Linked DNA regions of Homo sapiens: region 2 is linked to region 1. Evidence: promoter capture Hi-C in human tissues and cell types (Jung and others, 2019). All regions are on one chromosome and are shown on one strand. Each heading gives the region's core, a stretch centred on a gene start or on the middle of the fragment in contact. The rest is flanking DNA. Distances are from core to core; before and after follow the strand shown. Region 1 holds the start of RAB39B (RAB39B, member RAS oncogene family). Region 2 overlaps F8 (coagulation factor VIII).

Region 1 (5,921 bases), core at 344-2,843:
AAAGGCTGGAGGAACATGGGATAGAGAGATGATAGCTAAAAGGTTCTGGGTTCCTTTTTTTAAAAAATATATATACATATTTTATTATACTTTTAGTTCTAGGGTACCTGTGCAGAACGTGCAGGTTTGTTACATATGTATACGTGTGCCATGTTGGTGTGCTGCACCCATTAACTCGTCATTTACATTTACATTAGGTAAATGTAATCCCTCCTAATGCTATCCCTCCCCCCTCCCCCCACCCCTCTGGGTTACTTTTTGAAGTGATAAAAATGTTATAAAATTAACTGTGGTGATAGTTGTATATATCTGTGAGTATATTAAAAACCTATGCTAAGAATTGTTCACTTTAAATGGGTGAATTGTACAGTATGTGAATTTTCATGTTAATGAAGCTGATTTTTTTTAAAGAGTAAGGCAACGATAAAAGATTACACATAGAAGGCCGGGCGCGGTGGCTCACGCCTGTAATCCCAGCACTTTGGGAGGCCGAGGCGGGCAGATCACAAGGTCAGGAGATCGAGACCATCCTGGCTAATACAGTGTAACCTTATCTCTACTAAAAATACAAAAAATTAGCCGGGCGTGGTGGCGGGCACCTGTAGTCCCACCTACTCGGGAGGCTGAGGCAGGAGAATGGCATGAACCCGGGAGGTAGAGGTTGCAGTGGGCCGAGATCGCGCCACTGCACTCCAGCCTGGGCGACAGAGAGAGACTCTGTCTCAAAAAAAAAATAAAATAAAATTACACATAAAAAATACAAAGGATATGAAGAGACAATTCCCAGAAGAGGAAATGAAATGGTCAATACACAAGACTTGGTATTGACCTCATCAGTAGTCAGAGAAATGTAAAAATAAAGCAATGAGACATATTTTTATTTAACTAAATTCTATTGAGAAGAATTAAGAAAGAATAAAACATACATATGATGCTTGAAATAATGCAGAGCGATGGTCTTTTCACACATTGCTGGGTAGAATTTAAACTGTTAAATAGTTTTGGAAAGTAGAATGCCCATGTCCGTTAAATTTAAAATACTTATACTCTTTGAATTCATGGCCCCTTTTTTAAGACTGTAGCTCACAGAAATAAAATACTTGTGGCTACACTTTAAAATAAGTTATGACAAAAGGGAAATTAGGTGGAAATGGAAAGATATTTATGTTGCTTTATTAATTGCAAAAAGCAATTATTAATTGAAAGTAAGGCCCCAGTTTAATTTTTGTAAAAACAAACAGCAATAAATGCATATAGGAATACAAACACATATAATATTTGTGTGTTTATGTGAGCATGGAAACACTTGTAGACTAATATATAATTATGTGCCTTCCCTTTTTTGTGCAGTTTTGTATTGCTTTGCTAGTTTCAATGAAAAGGTATGACATTGGCAGTTTGAACGACAGAGAACAGTTTTAATGAACAGAGGGTGGGTGGGGTAGTTAGAAAGGGAGGGATCGCGCTAATGTTGCAGCCATTTTGTGTGCGCTCCTCTTACAGATAGTGCGGCGGCCCAGGCGTCGCGTCTACGCGGGGGATTACAGTAACCCGGTTGTCAGTGATGAGTCAGAGTGCGTGGTGCTGATGCTGCTGCCATTTCATCACCTTTGCGAGCGCAGCATCCATCCCTCCGCTCTCCCGGCGCCTGGGCCTACCCAGCTTCGGGCTCCCAGGCCAGCGATGCGCTCGCGGCTGAGCTAGATCCTGCCGAGCCGCGCTCTCTGAGGCGTCGGCGGGGCGCCCCCTCCCGCCGTCCCCGGTCCGGGCCAAGGAGACCTGCAGAGCCGCGGCCATGGAGGCCATCTGGCTGTACCAGTTCCGGCTCATTGTCATCGGGGATTCCACAGTGGGCAAGTCCTGCCTGATCCGCCGCTTCACCGAGGGTCGCTTTGCCCAGGTTTCTGACCCCACCGTGGGGGTGGATTTTTTCTCCCGCTTGGTGGAGATCGAGCCAGGAAAACGCATCAAGCTCCAGATCTGGGATACCGCGGGTCAAGAGAGGTTCAGGTGGGAGCGCAGTCCGGGCCCGCAAGCAGTGGGAGGGTCTTCGGGGTTTGCACCGCCTCTGGGGAGAGAGGACTTCCTGGTTCTAGGTGCGGTCCAGGAGGGCAACACCAAGGGTCTTGAGGATTCTGCCGAAGCCCACCTTCGGCTAACCCGGAGTTTAGTGCAAGGAAAGAAGCGCCCTGGCAGGGAAGGCCGGTCAATAACACATATTGCTTGCACCACAACTCCACCAACCTGCCCTTTGGTGGCTAACAAACTAGCTGGAATTGATCTCTGTATCTGTAATTCATCAATCTCAGTCCCTATGTTACATACTTTCAAAAACGTTCCCAGGTCATCCTAACATAACTGACAGAGATTTAAATACATAAATACATGTGTATTATGTTTTATTTCCACATCTGTGTGTGTGCACATATATATGCTAACATATGTTCTAACATGAAATAGATACGATTGATTCCTTCTTGCAACCAGCACACATTCAGTGATCATCTACTATGTGCCAGACTCTGGGCTTGTTCCTGGGAAAACAGTGTGAGGAGACTCACACAAGGGGATGCCATGTAATCTAAACAGACAAAGCCCCTTCATTCTTGGAACTTCTGTGCTAACATAGTTGAGGGAAATAGATAATCAGCAATTACGAAAGTGTGTCTTGCTCATATTTGTATGCCCACTCCCTACTGTAACACTTGGCACAAAATGAACATGCTTAATTTCAATCAATGAATTCATTGAATAATCAATGAATATGTTTACTTTCACTCAGAACCCTTTGCTTTTCTATTGTAGCATGTATTATTTGTAATTATATGTATGAACACAGAGGAGGAAAGGTTAACTGGAGAAGATGAGACCGGATGAGTATGACTGCCTAAGCAAAGACAGGAAACGCCCAGGGATAGGAAACAGCATGAATAAAGACAGAAGTGAGAGGGAGCAGAGTGTACACAGAAAACTTTGCAGAGAACAATTTGAACTAAAGTAGAGCAGCAGGAACCAGATCAAGAAAACTCAATAGCCCAAGTTTATGATCATTTACTCATTTATCTATTGAAAACTAACTAAGCATAGAAGATACTGGTTGGGTAATTGAAGAGGGGTAAGGAGAAGAAATAATTACAAACTTAAGTTACCTCCAGCTCCCCACTTCCACAAACACCACTGTGGAAAATATCCTTGTACAGGTTCACTTTGAACTTGCGATTGCATTTCTCCTAAGCAAAGAAAGGTATCTTTTATGTGTTTGTTGGAATTTCTTTCTATATGAACAGCCTGTTCATATCCACTGCTTATTTATTTATTGGGCAATATGGACTTGTAAGAGTACTTTATAGATTAAGAATATTAACCCTTTCCTGTCATGTATGTTGTAAGATATATTCCTAGTTTATCATCTGTCTTTTCACATTATTTAAGATTTTTTAATGTAGGGAAGAATTTAAGGTTTATGTAGCCTTATGTCCATGCTTAGAAGGCCTTTGTCACTTTCTTTGCTAAGTACTCACAAACAATTAATGTAATAATATATTCCAGAGTTTTGACAGTGATCTACAGCTTGCTTGTTGATTTCTTGAATCAACCTTCTCACAAATCAAAACCTTTGTTTGTTCATGTCTAAATTTTCTGGTAAATCTACCATTCTCCATGAATCTTCAAACCTAAGAGACGAGAAATGCTTTCAGTCCCCAGGGCTGATTTGCCTGATTTTGGAGACTTAAAGTCATTTGTAAGTTTTACTTTTACCATCATCTAGCTTGGACTGTAGGTCCCTGGACAATGCTTGTTCTGCTAACATTGAGCCATTTTCTCTAAGCTATTGAGTCCTTCGTTGTCTATCTTCTTTATCTGAGGAGACAGAAAACCTAAAAATAGACATAGGTAAAAAAAATCACAGTAGTCTAAAGCAAGTGACTGCAGAGACAAATAGGTCCATACCCTGTAATAAGCTTTAATACACTGTAAGCAAAGTGCCATAATGTATATTTATAATGAGGTTCCTCAAGTCAAGAAGTTAAAACATGTGAAGTTTCTTCTGATGGCTCCTGAGTTGAGTTGGCCTCTCTGAAATGTGTCAGGAAACAGGGCTGAGAGGCACTTTGCCTGAACCCTTCGCCATCTCTCTTTTTCCCATTCCCACAGGCCTTGAAAATAAAAAATAAAATTGTGTTTCTCCTCACAGAAGAGATTGAGGATCCCTGTTAGCTAATAATAATAATAATAATAATAATAAACAATAATAATAATGGAAAGAGAAAAAAACATGGTAATGATAAATGGAAAAAATGGAGTAGCAAGATACCTACTTTAAATATTTTGTTAACTATCATAAATTCATTTCTATGTTTTAAAAATCCTGTTTCAACTGCTAGCATTTGTAATGAACTCTCCACGTCACAGAACACTTTAATATCCATTGTTTCATTTTGCCTCATGGTAACACTGTGACTTGGGTATCCTATTTTGCAGAAAAGGAAGTCTCTGTCAGTTATTCAGATTTGGGGGGTGGGAGAGTTAGTTGTAGTTTTACCTGAAGGCAAGAAATAGAACTCAGTTATGTCCCAGGGTCACTCTCCAGTGCTGAATCCATGGAAAATGCCTAAAAGTTCATGAACATTCGTTTCTAGAAGATGCCCATCTCAAAGTTTGGCCCAATTGGAAACTCACATATTAGTAGTAGTATGGAATGCCATTTGTATTCCTTTGTTTTTTTAAAAAAAAAGAAAATCATTTTTATTAAAGGACTGTGTCACTAACCAGGAACACTTGAATATACTGAGTTCATTGACATGCAGAAGTTTGGGCACAGCCTTTACTCTTTACTTCTTTCTTGTGTTTTAGATCCATCACTCGCGCCTACTACAGGAACTCAGTAGGTGGTCTTCTCTTATTTGACATTACCAACCGCAGGTCCTTCCAGAATGTCCATGAGTGGTTAGAAGAGACCAAAGTACACGTTCAGCCCTACCAAATTGTATTTGTTCTGGTGGGTCACAAGTGTGACCTGGATACACAGAGGCAAGTGACTCGCCACGAGGCCGAGAAACTGGCTGCTGCATACGGCATGAAGTACATTGAAACGTCAGCCCGAGATGCCATTAATGTGGAGAAAGCCTTCACAGACCTGACAAGAGACATATATGAGCTGGTTAAAAGGGGGGAGATTACAATCCAGGAGGGCTGGGAAGGGGTGAAGAGTGGATTTGTACCAAATGTGGTTCACTCTTCAGAAGAGGTTGTCAAATCAGAGAGGAGATGTTTGTGCTAGTCAGTTCTTTTATTTCCAAAACATGCTCTCCTACTTGAACTGAAAAGTAAGAGAAATAAATAGAATCTTTGTGTAACTGATGAGAACTCAACCTCCATTTGGATACCAAGTGAGCCTCCCTCTCAGGGGGACTCTGACAGACTCGTGTGCGGGTGGATGGGGGTGCCTGAGTGCTGTGACCAAGGGACTGAATTGCTGACATGGGCCAGGCCAGGCACTGTTTTGTGGCCCATGCTAGGCAGTGGCTGCTCCATGAGCCCTTTGTGGACCACATGTTAAAGGCCTGGGGTTTAGGAAGCTAAGTCCCAGGAAAACATACCTACAGACAGGACAACTGTTCCTTGGTATTTGAGCTCACTTATAGGCCATGAACATAAAGAAATACATAAAGGGGAAAAAAGTTTCACAATGGGGACAATTAGCATAACTAAACAAAGATTATGAGCTCTACTTATTCCGTGAGAATACCCTGCACCAAAGGTGTTTGCTGGGTTTGGTTAAAAGGTACCAATTAGCTTTTAACAGCTTTCTGTAAAATGAGGAACACAGACCAAAAGGTCTGGTGTTCAAGTAAAAATGATGTGACTATGGAAAGGAAGGCAATCGACACAGTTATTAGCACATTTCAGAAAATGAACAC
Region 2 (6,609 bases), core at 335-2,834, 250 kb after region 1:
AAAAAAAAATTAGCTGGGCATGGTGGTGCTCACCTGTAATCCCAGCTACTGAGGAGGCTGAGGCAGGAGAATTGCTTGAACCTAGGAGGCGGAGGTGGCAGTGAGCTAAGATTGTGCTCAGCCTAGGTGACAGAGTGAGACTCCATTTCAAAAAATAAAAAAATAAAAAAAAGCAGTATCTCTCATATTCATTAACTGGACCCTGACTTTCTTAAAGCTCACCCCAAAGCTGAAGTCCATGAAGGCACTAGTTCTCAAACTTCAGTGTGCATAAGAATCACTCGGGAAGCTTATTAAAATTTACATTCCTAGGCCCCATCCTCAGCAAACTATTTAGTCCCCAGGTAATTCTATCCCACCCCACCCCAGCTTTATTGTGGTATAATTGACAAATAAAAGTTGTATATATTTAAGGTGTACAAGATAATGTTTTGATGTAAGTATACATTGTAAAATGGTATAGCATGAAGGGTTTTCTTTTCATTTTTTTCAGAATAGTTTGTAATATCTTCTTTGATTTCATCTTTGATAATCTAGACGTATGATTTTAATTGCTTTTTAAATTTGTTTATCAAGTTAGTTTGTAGTATTTGGGTCAACATTGAATATCCTGTTAATTTCCTATTGCTGTGTAACAAACTACATCAAATGTATCAGCTTATGACAGACCCATTTACTGTCTCACAGTTTCTGTGAGTTAGAAGTCCAGGTGGACTCAGCTGGATACTCTGTGCAGGGTCATACAAGGCCAACACCAAGGTTTTAATAGGGCTGCACTCCTTAGTGAAAGCTCTTGGGGAGAATCTGCTTACAGGCTCATTTGGAATGTTAGCAAATTCAGTTCCTTCTCTCACTTTCCATGTAGTGCCCTCTACCAGCAATGGTGCATCAACACTCTCTCATGCTTGGAATTGCTCTGACTTCAATTTTCCGTGCATATCTCTGGCCTTTTTTGCCTCTCTCTTTTACTTTTAAGGACTCATGTGATTACATTGGGCCGACCTGGGTAATTCAGAATACTCTCCCCATCTCAAGGTCAGCTAATCAGCCCCTTAATTCCATCTGCAAAGTTTAATTTGCCACATAATATATTTTTGGACATGACACCAAGGAGCAAAGGTGATGTGGGCCAAATTTTTACCTGCCACAGGTATAGTTTACATACAATGAAGCTCATCAATTTTAAATATGCAGTTTGATGAGTTTTGACAAATGCATACACTTGCATAACCACCACCCTAATCAACATGCATTTACATCAACCCTCCTGCAACTTTTTAATGAGTCTCTCCCACTGACCTGGCCTCAGCCAATAAACTGCTATCTGGAAGTTACAGATTTGTTTTCACATGTTCTAGAATTTTACATCAGTGGAATCATACGGTATGTATTCTTCTATGGCTTTTTTTCTTCAGCATCATGATTTGGAAATTCATGCAGGTTGTTGTATAAAGTATTTCTATCCTTTTTATTGCTGATTACTGCTCCATTATGGGATTATATCATAATTTTGGATTATTTCCAGTTAGGAGCAAATACAAATAAACCTGCTATGAACAGTGCTCCACATGTTTTGTGTGAACATCTATTTTCATTTATCTTAGTTAAATATCTAGGAGTGGAATTGCTGGATCATATGGTAAGTGCATGTTTAAGAGAAACTGCCAGACAGATTTCTTGAACGTACCATTCTATACTCCCACCAGCAATGCATGAGAGTTCCAGTTGCAATATATCCTGGACAACATTTGATGTTGCCAGTACTTAATGACTGCACAGTGGTATCTCACTATACTTTTTTTTTTTTTTGAGATGGAATCTCATCCCATCACACAGGCTGGAGTGCAGTGGCGCAATCTCAGCTCAACATCTGCCTCCTAGGCTCAAGCAATTCTCATGCCTCAGCCTCCTGAGTAGCTAGGACTATGGTCACACGCCACCGTGCCCAGCTAATTTTTGTATTTTTGGTAGAGACGGGGTTTTGCCATGTTGGCCAGGCTGGTCTCAAACTCCTGGCCTCAAGTGATCCACCCGCCTCGGCCTCCCAAAATGTTGGGATTACGGCTTGAGCCACTGCACCTGGTTATACTTTTAATTTGCGTGTCTCTGATGACTAAAGATGTTGAGCATCTTTGCATGTGCTAATTAGCCATTCCTATATCTTCTTGGAAGTGTCTATTCAAATCATTGGTCCTTTGTTTTTAAACGTAGTTTCAACTTTTATTTTAGACTGAGGAGGTACATGTGCAGGTTTGTTACATGAGTATGTTGCATGGTGCTGAAGTTTGGGTTACGAATGAATGATCCTGTCACTGAAGTAGTGAACATAGTACCCAATAGGTGGTTTTTCACTCCTTGCTACCCTTCCTCCTCCCTCTTTCCTCTAGTCGTCTCCAGTGTCTATTATTCTATGTCCATGTGTTCTCATCATTTAGCTCCCACTTCTAAGTGAGAACATATGGTATTTGGTTTTCAGTTCCTGTGTTAATTCACTTAGGATAATGGTTTGCCAGTTTTTAATTGGGTTGTTTGTCTTGTTATTGTTGAGTTTTGATAATTTTTTATATATTCTGGGTACAAGACTATTCAGAGGTACCTGTTTTGAATGTTTTTTTCCAATCTATGGCTTGCATTTTCATTTTCCAAATGGTGTCTTTCAAATAGTGGAAATTTATAGTTGTAGTTAAGTCCAATTTAGCTTTTCTTCTTCTATGATTCATGCTTTTTTTTCCCCTGTCCTAGGAAATCTTTGCCCACCTCAAGTTCACAAAGCCTTTCTTCTGTTTTCTTCTAGAACTTTTATCATTTTAGCATTAGTATTTAGGTTTATAATACATTTTGAGTTAAATTTTCTGTATGGTGTGACTTTTCTTTCTCTATTGAATTCCCTTGGTGCCTTTGTAGAAAATTAAATGACTGTATATAGGCAAATCTGTTTATGGATTCTCTAGTTCCATAGATGTGTATATCTGTGCTTATGCCAGTACCAGATTGTTTTGATTGTTGTAACTTTATAGTAAGTCTTAATATCAGGCAGTCTAAAACCTCCAACTTACTTTTTTATTGAAATTGCTTTTGATATATTTAGGCTTTTATATTTCTGTATTAATTTTATAGTCAACTAGCCAACTCCACCAAATAGCCAACTGGGATTTTGACTGGAATTGAATTGAATCTGTAGATCAATTTGGGGAGAATTGACATTTAAACAATACTGAATCTTTCAATACAACAACATGGTATGGCTTTGTTTCTTTAAATTTTCTTTAATTTCCCTCTAGGATATTTTGTAGCCTACAGAGTAGTTCTTGCAAGAATTATATTAATTGTATCCCCAAGTATTTTGAGGGATTCGATGCTATTGTTAATTGTATCATTTTTATTTGTTTTCGTTTTCCAATCATTTGTTACTAAAATATAGAAATTCAATTGATTTTTGTATATTGACCTTGTTCACTCTAATCTTGTTAATTTGCATTTTAGCTCTAGTAGCGTTTTGCACTTCTTTTAGAATTTCTACATATACAATAATGTTGTCTGCAAATAAAGACAGTTTGCTTCTTCCTTTCCAAACTGGATGCTTTTTATTTTTTTTTTCATGCCTTACTGTACTGGCAAGGGCCTCCAGTACAATGTTAGATAGAACTGATGATAGCAGAATCCTTGTCTTCTTCCTGATTTCAGAGGGAAAATATTCATTATTTTACCATTAAGTACAATTACTTGTAAATTTTTTCATAGATGCCCTTTGTCAAATTGAGGAAGTTTCCTTCTATTCTTGGTGTGAGAGTTTTTATCAAGATTTGATATTAGATTTTGTCAAATGCTTTTTCTGCATCTATTCAAATGGTCATATGGTTTATCTTGTTTATTCTGTTATGGTGAATTACCTTGATTGATTTTTTAATGAGGAACTAGCTATGTATTCCCAGGGAAAAAATCCACCTGGTTGTGACATATTACATTGGTAATATTTTCGCTATGGACTGAATTGTCTCCACCTCCCCCCACCCCAAATTCATATGTTGAAGTCCTAACTCTCAAGATGATTATATTTGGAGATAGGGCTTTTAGGAGGTAAACAAGGTTAAATGAGGCCATAAGGATGGAGTCCTAATCTGATAGGACTGGTGGCCTCATAAGAAGAGAGAAGGTTCTCTCTCTACACTCATGCACTGAGGAAAAGCCATGTGAACATACAGCGAGAAGGCAGCCATCTACCAGCTGGGAAGAGGGCTCCACTAGAAACTGACCGTGCTGGCACCCTGATATTGGATTTCCAGCCTCCGGAACTGTGAGAAAATAAGTTTCTGTTGTTTAAGTCACCCAATCTCTAGTATTTTGTTATGGCAGCCCTGGCCAACTAAAACTGTTTTGTTAAGGGTTTTGGTGGTGATGGTGGTTTTTTAGTTTTTGCGTCTGTGTTCATGATGGATATTTGGCTGTGATTTTCTTATAATGTCATTGTCTGGTTTTGATATAAGAGTGGTATTAGTCCGTTCTAATGCTGCTATGAGGACATACCCGAGACTGGGTAATTTATAAAGGAAAGAGATTTAATGGACTCACAGTTCCACATGGCTGGGGAGGCCTCACAATCATGGTGGAAGGCAAAGGAGGAGCAAAGACACATCTTATATGGCATGGTGGCAGACAAGAGAGCATTGTACAGGAGAACTGCCCTTTATAAAACCATCAGCCCTCATGAGACTTATTCACTATAATGTGAACAGCATGGGAAAACCCCACTGCCATGATTCAATTACCTCCCACCTGGTCCCTCTCACAGCACATGGGGATTGTGGGAGCTACAATTCAAGATGAGATTTAGGTGGGGACACAGCCAAACCATATCAAAGAGTAAGACTATTCTTTTTTTTTTTTTTTTTTTTTTTGAGACGGAGTCTCGCTCTGTCACCCAGGCTGGAGTGCAGTGGTGCGATCTCGGCTCACTGCAAGCTCCGCCTCCCGGGTTCACGCCATTCTCCTGCCTCAGCCTCCCGAGTAGCTGGGACGACAGGCGCCCGCCACCACGCCTGGCTAATTTTTTATACTGATAGTAGAGACGGGGTTTCACCGTGTTAGCCAGGATAGTCTCGATCTCCTGACCTCATGATCCGCCCACCTCGGCCTCCCAAAGTGCTGGGATTACAAGCGTGAGCCACCGCGCCCGGCTGACTATTCTTATAAAATGAGTTGAGACGTGTTCACTCTTCTATTTAATGAAAGAGTTTGTGTAGAATTGGTATCATTTCTTTTTTAAATGTTTATTCACCAGGGAAATCATCTTATCCCAGTGTTTTTTGTTTTGGTTTGGTTTTTTTTTTAAGGGTCTTAATTGTGAATTCTATTTTTAATAGGTAAAGGGCTATTTGAATTTTCTATTTCTTATAGGATAAATTTTAATAATTTCTTTTAAGAAATTCCATTTGAGACTGGGCATGGTGGCTCACACCTGTAACCCCAACACTTTGGGAGGAGGCAGCAGGATTGCTCTAGGCCAGGAGTTTGAGATCAGCCTGGGCAACATAACAAGACTTGACTTCTACAGAATTTTTTTTCATTAGCCAAGTGTGGTAACATATGCCTGTAGTCCCAGCTACTTGGAAGGCTGAGGCAGGAGGATCACTTGAGCCCAAGAGTTCAAGGCTGCAATTAACTATGGATCATGCTACTGCACTCCAGCCTGAGCAACAAAGCAAGGCTCTGTCTCAAAAAAAGAAAAGAAATTCCATCTGAGCTGTTGAATTTAATAGTATAAAGTTCAGAATATTTCCTTACCATTTTTTCACTCCTTGGAGGTATGATTTACATACTGTAAAAATCACTTATTTTCAGTGTGGAGATTCTTTTCCTTTCCTAAATCTCCACATTTTTATTGACATATACTTTACATATCATAAAATTCACCATTTGAAAGTGTACAATTCAGTGGTTTTTAGTGAATCCGTAAAGTGTACAACTATCATCTTTATTTAATTCCAGAATATTTTCATCACCTCAAAAAGAAACCCTGTAATCATTAAACAGTCACTTCTAATTTTCTTCCTTTCCCCAGCCCCTGGCAACCATTAACCTACTTTCCGTCACTGTGGTTTTGCCTATTCTGGATATTTCATGTAAATGAAGGGATAAAATATGTGGCCTTTTGTGTCTAGCATCTTTTGCTTAGCATGTTTTCAAGATTCTTCCATTTTTGCAGAATGATAGAGGAGTTAAAATAAGAAAATAAAGATATAGTAAGAATGAAACTATTTTCATTTTTTAATTTAAAAAAATCTTCCATGTTGTAGTATGTATCAGAATTTAACTCCTTTTTATGGCTGAATAATACTCCATTGTATGGATAGACCACATTTTGTTTATCCATTCATCTGTTGATGGACTTTTGGATTGTTTCCCCTTTTGGCTATTATGAATAATGCTGCTATAGAACATTCATGTACAAGTCTTTGTGTACATATGCTTTTATTTCTCTTCGGAATATACTTAGGAATATAATTGCTAGGTCACATGGTAATTCTATGTTTAACTTTTAGAGGAACTGCCAGACTTTTTCAAAGCAGCTGCACCATTTTACATTTTCACTACCAAAGTATGAGTGTTCCA

What was found. Contacts are between HindIII fragments. The study calls those that stand out against the background at their distance.
Region 2: a contact is called between a fragment that was not itself captured here and the fragment with the promoter of RAB39B in region 1, in 1 of the 25 tissues and cell types used here (aorta).

What each region holds. Positions count from the first base shown.
Region 1 is chrX:155,260,163-155,266,083 of GRCh38, reverse strand. It overlaps RAB39B (RAB39B, member RAS oncogene family), which reads left to right and starts at 1,593. Exons shown (of 2, transcript NM_171998.4): 1 at 1,593-2,010; 2 at 4,855-5,921. The coding sequence starts at 1,796. The coding sequence ends at 5,281. RefSeq lists silencers at 1,546-1,595, 1,606-1,815. The HindIII fragment of the contact is 17,880 bases long and covers 1-5,792 here.
Region 2 is chrX:155,011,432-155,018,040 of GRCh38, reverse strand. All of the region lies in intron 1 of F8 (coagulation factor VIII), which reads left to right. Among named protein-coding and RNA genes, the nearest start is that of F8, 8.0 kb to the left of the region's middle. The HindIII fragment of the contact is 7,588 bases long and covers 1-5,378 here.